Linked DNA regions of Homo sapiens: all the other regions are linked to region 3. Evidence: promoter capture Hi-C in human tissues and cell types (Jung and others, 2019). All regions are on one chromosome and are shown on one strand. Each heading gives the region's core, a stretch centred on a gene start or on the middle of the fragment in contact. The rest is flanking DNA. Distances are from core to core; before and after follow the strand shown.

Evidence for each region. Contacts are between HindIII fragments. The study calls those that stand out against the background at their distance.
Region 1: a contact is called between a fragment that was not itself captured here and the fragment with the promoter of ENSA in region 3, in 1 of the 25 tissues and cell types used here (hippocampus).
Region 2: the fragment with the promoter of VPS72 here is called in contact with the fragment with the promoter of ENSA in region 3 in 1 of the 25 tissues and cell types used here (adrenal gland).

Annotation. Positions count from the first base shown.
Region 1 is chr1:150,004,525-150,007,224 of GRCh38, forward strand. All of the region lies in intron 1 of OTUD7B (OTU deubiquitinase 7B), which reads right to left. Among named protein-coding and RNA genes, the nearest start is that of OTUD7B, 4.9 kb to the right of the region's middle. The HindIII fragment of the contact is 6,747 bases long and covers 1-2,700 here.
Region 2 is chr1:151,188,800-151,191,499 of GRCh38, forward strand. VPS72 (vacuolar protein sorting 72 homolog) reads right to left here and starts at 1,398. Exons shown (of 6, transcript NM_005997.3): 1 at 1,206-1,398. The coding sequence starts at 1,322. RefSeq lists enhancers at 1,373-1,442, 1,483-1,542. The HindIII fragment of the contact is 20,238 bases long and covers 1-2,700 here.
Region 3 is chr1:150,628,347-150,631,046 of GRCh38, forward strand. ENSA (endosulfine alpha) reads right to left here and starts at 1,266. Exons shown (of 4, transcript NM_004436.4): 1 at 1,068-1,266. The coding sequence starts at 1,124. LOC112268239 (a long non-coding RNA gene) reads left to right here and starts at 1,473. Exons shown (of 2, transcript XR_007066603.1): 1 at 1,473-2,156. RefSeq lists enhancers at 981-1,250, 993-1,960, 1,961-2,700. The HindIII fragment of the contact is 5,200 bases long and covers 1-1,955 here.

The DNA of each region.
Region 1 (2,700 bases), core at 85-2,584, 620 kb before region 3:
ACTCCAGCCTGAGCTGGACAACAGAGCAAGACCCTGTCTCAAAAAAATAAATAAATAAATACATAAATAAATAAATAAATAAATTTTATATATATATATAAACTTATAAGCCTAGCTTTTTAACACCCTCTATAAACATAGCTCCAAACCAACCTACCCACCTTCATTTCACTACTGCTCACTGCCACTCAGGTTAGTCTCCTCACCGCCCCAAGAACATCTCAGGTATAGTCCTGTTTCCAGGCTTTCGCTTGATCCCTTTCAGCTCCAATATGAAATGTTTTGTTATCCTCTTCATCTTCATCCCTTGTACCTAATACAATAACACTTATTCATTTATTTTTTTATTTATTTTGGAGACAGAGTCTTGCTCTGTCACCCAGGCTGGAGTGCAGTGGTGCTATCTCGGCTGTTTGCAACCTCCATCTCCTGGGTTCAAGTGATTCTCCTGCCTCAGCCTCCTGAGTAGCTGGGATTACAGGCGTGAGCCACTGTGCCTGGCCTATTTTTTTATTAAGATCTGAAATGAGTTATAATTCCTCTGTGACATAACTACCTGAGTACTCCTCTCCCCAAATACCTACGGTATGAGGTCTGCACTATGCAACTAACAATATAGTTTCACATTTTAAAATTTTGTGTGGCATATTAAGAGGCTCAGCAAGTATTCATTCCTTTTTATTCTTCTTACTCCCAACTGGACTGTAAACTCTTCAAGGACACAAAGTTGTCATTTTTCCTAATCCTCCATAGCACCTAGCAAAGAATTAAACTCATAGTGGGTCACTACAAATAACAGTTTAGTAATTTTCTTATCTACAGCTATTTCTTAGAGGAAATAAAGGGCTAAGGTATAATCCTAAAAAAAGCACAGTTGAAAATAATCCCTATCTAGTTGTATAAAATAAGATTCCTGACTTTTCCACCTGATTTCTAGCTCAGAAATACTACAATCTCCTGACTCAAGAAGTAAATAATAATCCTGTGCTCGTGACATCAGTTTGGTAATGATTATAAAGAGGTGGGGGAGAGTGGCAGGGATGGAGAAAAGCAAGTCAACTGGAGAAGAAAAAAAAGGGATGAAAGAATGGCATGTGATTTTGTTTACTTCTTAAATGTGGACACTTCTGCCCATTCCTTTTTTTTTTAATTGGACATACTTTCAAACAACTTTCCTACAGGAGGAAAAGTCTGACAGATTTTCAATGAAGCTGATATCTGGAAGAGCCTCTACAAAGCACAAGTCCTTTGAGAAAGCCGGCTTAATCTTCAACAACACAACATAATGTAGTGGCATTCGTCCAGATACTGTGAATGAAGGCTCATTCTGGCTGGAACACAAGCATCACCTGCCAGTCATTCTCAGACATAAGACAGACAGCCTAGGAGGCCACATTGGATCCATACAGATTTTGAAAAGAAATTGGTCTATCAACATATTCAGTGTAGTCTAGTCTTAATTATCTACAAATGGATTATTCATTTTACGGATTTCTAAGGCCAAATCTTTAATGCAAGAATGACTGTTCTTCATCATCAGTGTACTCTCCCCACCATCAGGTAATATAAGCTTAGAAATGCAAATTTATTTCAATATTAGTATGATCCCCAAAAATGAAAATAAATCTAGTTTAAAAAATAATGTATTTTCGGCCCGGCACACTGGCTCACGCCTGTAATCCCAGCACTTTGGGAGGCCGAGTCAGGCGGATCACGAGGTCAGGAGATCAAGACCATCCTGGCTAACACGGTGAAACCCCGTCTCTACTAAAAATACAAAAAATTAACCGGGCGTGGTGGTGGGCGCCTGTAGTCCCAGCTACTCGGGAGGCTGAGGCAGGACAATGGCATGAACCTGGGAGGCAGAGCTTGCAGTAAGCTGAGATTGCGCCACTGTACTTCAGTCTGGGAGCAAAGTTGTCATTTTTCCTAAACCTCCATAGCACCTAGCAAAGAATTAAACTCATAGTGGGTCACTACAAATAACAGTTTAGTAATTTTTCTTATCTAAAACTATTTCTTAGAGGAAATAAAGGGATAAGGTATAATCCTAAAAAAAACACAGTTGAAAATAACCAGGAAATGTCTTTGTTAAGTTCTGAATTACCTACAACAGTGCTCCCTACATTAGCAGAGACAACTGAGAGTTAAATGCACTTGAAACATAATGCTGTCCTTACTATAAGCTCTTGAGGAGAATCCGGCCATAGTCTTGAGACTTCCCCACAGGTTGGTGCACTACGAGACAGGAACAAGCAGGCTCAGCATAGTAAGGTGTGTAAACACAAAAACTTCTACAAGGAATCTTATGCCTCCTGGCTGTATCCCTTCAGGTTAGGATGGTACAGAAAATAAGAGTCACAATGTACGGATGCCTGCCTGATTCCTTGTCCCTGAGTTCCTGAACCAAAGGGCTCAATATTTCTCATTAAATCCGTCCTTTGTTCAAGGACCTACAATGATTCTATTGACCCTTCTATCAACACCCAACAGAGTCTGGCTTCTGAGTCCCCTCCACCCTCTTGCCTGCTCTACTCATGACTTGCCCAACCCACATTCTCTACAGTCACTCTCATATATTCCCCCCACTCACAACTTAGTCATTCATATCATCATTGCACACTGTACATTCTATACTTTCTGTTTGGAAGATCCTTTCTTTTCTTTTATTCCCAACACAGTAACTATTTCATTTACTTG
Region 2 (2,700 bases), core at 148-2,647, 560 kb after region 3:
ACTCTTACACCTTGTTTTAGTCCTTATCACACATTTTTTGTTTGTTTTTGAGACGGAGTCCTGCTCTGTCGCCCAGGCTGGAGTGCAGTGGTACGATCTCGGCTCACTGCAACCTCCTCCTCCCAGGTTCAAGCGATTCTCTGCCTCAGCCTCCTGAGTAGCTGGGACTATAGGCGCACACCACCACGCTTGGCTAATTTTTGTATTTTAATAGAGACAGGGGGTTTTACCATGTTGGCCAGGATGGTCTCGATTTCCTGACCTTGTGATCCACCCGCCTCGGCCTTCCAAAGTGCTGGGATTACAGGCGTGAGCCACTGTGCCCGGCCAAAGCCACTGTGCTCGGCCTATCACACAGTATTTTAACTGTTAACCCAGGCAGTTACCCCACTGGGGCATGGAGTATGTAAGGACAGAGCACTGTTTTTAATATTCTGTTTCCCTAGAGCCTAAAACAACCTATTACCGATGGCATGCTCTGGGTACTCAACACATTTAATAAACGGGTAGATTCAACTAATAAAAATTTAGCAAGTGGCAGCCCAGTCCGGACACCTCACACATAATGTTGAACAAAACAGACCATCTCTAACTTTATACAGTTTACAATGCAATAGAAAAGCATAAGCAAGTAAGCAAACCAAATCTAATTGCAAATTGAAATATGTTCTGTGGAAGAAATAAATGGGGACACTTGTTAGGATAGTCAAGGAAGGGTTATCTTCCTGAGAAAACATTTACACTGAGACCTGAAAGCTGAAAAAGAAGTGGGCTAAGCTCCTCTACTTTTGGAGCGGTTCCTTTCCATGTCTCAGGTGAATAATCCAGCAGTGGGCCAACGAGTATACATCGAGCAACTGTCTACTACTATGTGTGTGCCTCGTGTATGCTGGACGTCAGAAGTACAGTGAAAGATGCAACCACGCAAGTATACGGTAGGTTTCTGCCGTTCTCTGTTCTCTGGAGTGCCTCCGGAGAGCTTCTCCGTCTCAGGCCCCTTTGACCCCATCCAGAGCTCTCCCTTCTAGGACTCCACACTATCCGTTCCCCCGCCTCGCCCCCCGGCTCCGATTCACCCACCCAACTCGAGTATCAGCTCCCAGAGCTCCTCTCTATTCCCCGCCCTCTTCTTCTTTGTCCGGGGTTTCTCCCTTCAGGGCTCCTCTTTGCCTCCTCCCCTCCCTTTTCCCAGGCCCGGATCTTGCCTCTGTGAAACCCCCATAAGTCGTCTGGTAGAACTCATCTTCCTCCTCTGCCTCCAAAAGCCCAGAAAGCCGGTTCCCAGCGGTCTTCCGGGGTGCCCGGCCCCCAGCCAAACTCATACCGCCTACCGAGACTGCGCCGCCACCTGCAGCCCCTCACCAGCTCGGTTTTGGGAGCTCGACGCTCGACATCACTACCTGCGGGTGGCCACCAGCGGCGGAAGTCGGGCGTTTACAGGCAGAAGTAACAGAGTGTCGAGAGACTCCCAGTCCCACCCTCTAAACCCTCTTTACTCTTCAGCCTCTCCTACTCCTGCGCGGATGCTCTAGGCCGCTTGCTCTAGTACCCAGCGATCTCCCTTGCTCAATGAGTCCACTTGGTGGTACGAAGACCCCCATAACCCTAAGTCAACACATTTTATTTTATTTATTTTTATTTTATATATATATATGGTTTTTTTTTTCCGTAGGGACGGAGTCTCGCCTCGCTCTGTCGCCAGACTGGAGTGCAGTGGCACGATCTCGGCTCACTGCAACCTCCGTCCCCCGGGCTGAAGCGATTCTCCTGCCTCAGTCCCCCGAGTAGCTGGGATTACAGGCGCCCGCCACCATGCCCAACTAATTTTTGTATTTTTAGTAGAGACAGCTTTCACCGTGTTGGCCAGGCTGGTCTCGAACTCCTGACCTCAGGTGATCCGCCCGCTTCGGCCTCCCAAAGTGCTGGGATTACAGGCATAAGCCTGCGCCCCCAGCTCACATTTTCTTTTAGAAGAGGTCATTCTCTCCGCTCCAGTCCATTTTCTACACTGCTGCTAGTAGGAAACTTTCTAAAAACCCACGTTTTGCCACTCCTGTCCTCAAACATTTTTAATGGCTCCACATCATCTACAAGATAAAGTCAAAAATCCTTGAGGAAGGAAGCATAGTATTGTGGTTAAAAACACAGCCATAGACATTTATCCAAAGGAAAGGACATAATTCAACCTGAGGAAGCCAATTTAGGAGGAAAAAAAAAAAGGAAATCAGTATATCCAAGAGACGTCTGCACTCCATATTTATGCACCCCCATATTTATTGCAGCACTACTTAGAGTAGCCAAAATAGGAAATCAATCTCTGTGTCCAACAACAGATGAATAAAGGAAATAGGGTGTATATACACAATGGAATACTTTTCAGCCATTAAAAAGAAGAAAATCCTGTCATTTGCAGCAACATGGATGGAACTGGAGGACATGTTAACTGACTTAAGCCACGAACAGAAAGTTAAAACACTGCATGTTCTCACTCATATGTGACGCTTTTAAAAAGTTGATTTCATAGAAGTGAAAGAACAGAGGATACTGGAGGCTGGGAAGAGCAGGGGGAAGGAAGGGACAGGGAAAGATTTGTTAAAAGACACAAAATTGTGGCTCACACCTGTAATCCCAGCACTTTGGGAGGCCGAAGGGGGTGGATCATGAGGTCAGGAGTTCACGACCAGCCTGGCCAAGATGGCG
Region 3 (2,700 bases), core at 16-2,515:
CAAGCTGATAAACAGAGAGGAAAATGATACTGTTTTTAACCTCAGGAAAACAAAGATACAGTAGGCTCACTAGTATTTACCCACCAGTTTTCATCAAAAAAATCAATACCTACCCTGGTGGTGCAGGGACTCTCACTACTGTAGTCAATCTCTTTTTTTTTTTTTTGTGGTCCCTGCTGCCCTTTAGTGACTTTTTGAAAAGATATGAAGTCAACGTATGACTCTTTTTAGTGGAATTATATTCCTTTCTCTTGGAAATTACGCATAGATATAACACCAAGTGTATTTAATGAGTACCTGAACCCAGTACTAAATTTTAAAAGTCAAATACAAACCCCAATAAGGGGTTTATTTGGCGTTAGTGTTTCCATCACGGAATCGCAGGTGCACTAAGTCCCTGCCTTGGAAGTCTAGGGGAAGAGAGAAGTGTCTTTCTCACGACCCTGTCGGCGTCTTTTCCAAGTTTAATTACCATGATTCTGTTTGGAACTCTAGCCCTCTTCAATATTGCTGGGTCCTCACTGAAGGTGAGCAATAGACCATCCTTAGCTACTAAAATAGGTCTCTTGAGAAAGTTGCCGCCTTAAACTAGCCATTATAATAACTACACTTCTCCCCTCCCCCAATACTGGTTTTTTTTTAAACGTCTTTACCTCGACCCCTATCTTTGCGGATTGAGGCTGCGGGCCCCAGCCCGGTTGCTGGGTCACTTACCTCTACAAACCAATAACACACATCACACCCAAGACCACCAGCCATCCCCTTTCCATTCACCGTCTTTCCAACCACCCGCCCCACGTCCATGCTCGGCCAATTATAGCACAGCGTCCAAGGTTTGAGCGGTAGGCCTATTGGCCAATCAGGAAGAGTACAGTACTGAGTGACAAACGACCCAACTAACCAGCGCCAAAGCAGCATGTCGTGTTGAAGCTCACCCAGCGTGACGCAAAAAGTGGCCAACCCCTGCGGAGCCTGAGACCATGGCGACCAATCCGCACTGGTGGGAGACCGTCTCCCGCCCCATCACGGTCTCCCCAGCTCGCCCGCCCGCACCCCTTCCACTTCACCTGCTTCTCCTCGCCGGTCTCCTCCGCAGGGTTCTCTTCTTCTTGTTTCTGGGACATGGCGGGACCGGGACTGTGGAGTGTAAGGGGCCCGGGAAGGCAACCGGAGAAGGGAAGGGGGAGGGGAAACGGGGACAACCTGCGCTGCTGCTTCGGCTCCTGTCACTAGGGTTGCTCAGTCAAAATGGCGGCCCTTGCCCGTGACGTTGCGACCGCCCCTTCCTATGAGAGCCAGTGGGAGTGAGGTAGATAGGGCAATGACGTAACGATCTACCAATAGTCGCCGTCTAAAGGTGGGCTCTATAGAGGCGACCGGCAAGCTGGAACACCAACCTGGAAAGAGAGTGAGCCACAAGGACCAATTGGAAGCCTGTGGGGGATATCGGGGGCGGGGCTGCTGGCTGTGGTACTTTTGCAGCTTTGGTGGGCTCCGGCTTCCTTCACTCCAGCCCACCGCGTCCGAGAGACTTAGCAGGGCGTCAAACTGGAGAGCGGAAGGATGGAACCTTTTATTCTCAGGTGGAGAGGATTAAGCTTTGCGGTGTTAGCAGAAAATGATCGAGCTCCAGAAAATGATTTGGAGGTCAGATTCGATTTTAAAGTAGTACTAACAGGCCGGGCGCGGTGCCTCACGCCTGTAATCCTAGCACTTTGGGAGGCCGAGGTGGGCGGATCACCTGAGGTTAGGAGTTCGAGACCAGCCTGACCAACATGGTGAAACCCCGTCTCTACTAAAAATACAAATATTAGCCGGGCGTGGTGGCGGGCGTTTGTAATCCCAATTACTTGGGAGGCTGAGGCAGGAGAATCGCTTGAACCCTGCAGGCGGAGGTTGCAGTGAGCCGAAATCGCGCCACTGCACTCCAGCCTGGGTGACAGGACGAGACTTTGTCGCGAAAAATAAAATAAAACGGTACCAATGGTATTACGATGTGTCACTTGGCCTGTGGAAGAGAGAGACTGAGTCTCAACCCGAGCTGTCTTGCAAAACACTAATGGCTTACGTTCCGTAGTTTCACTCTTATGTGTAGTTTTTATATTCCATCAGGGTGATCCCTTGGGGACTACGCTCCTTGAAACAAGGAGGACAGTGTAAGTATGTGGTAAACATTTGGTAAATACGGTTAATACTAGTTAACCTATCCAGAATTACAGTTTAACATTTCCTGGGCGTCTGTCTGTATGTGGATGGTACTGTGTTAGTTGGGGGGGGTACGTGTATAGTAAGGCAGTCTCTGCCCTTAGAAAGCTTACAGGCCTGGCTGGGCGCGGTGACTCACGCCTGTAATGCCAGCACTCTGGGAGGCGTAGGCGGGCGAATCACTTGAGGTCAGGAGTTCGAAACCAGCCTGGCCAACATGGTGAAACCCTGTCTCTACTAGAAATACAAAACAAGGCTGGGCACGGTGGCCCACGCATGTAATCCCAGCACCTTGGGAGGCCGATGAGGGTGGATCATGATGTCAGGCGATAGAAACCATCCTGGTCAACATGGAGAAACCCCGTCTCTACTAAAAATACAAAAATTAGCCAGGCGTGGTGGCGTGCACCTGTAGTCCCAGCTACTCAGGAGCCTGAGGCAGGAGAATCGCTTTTACCTGGGAGGCGGAGGTTGCAGTGAACCGAGATCGCATCT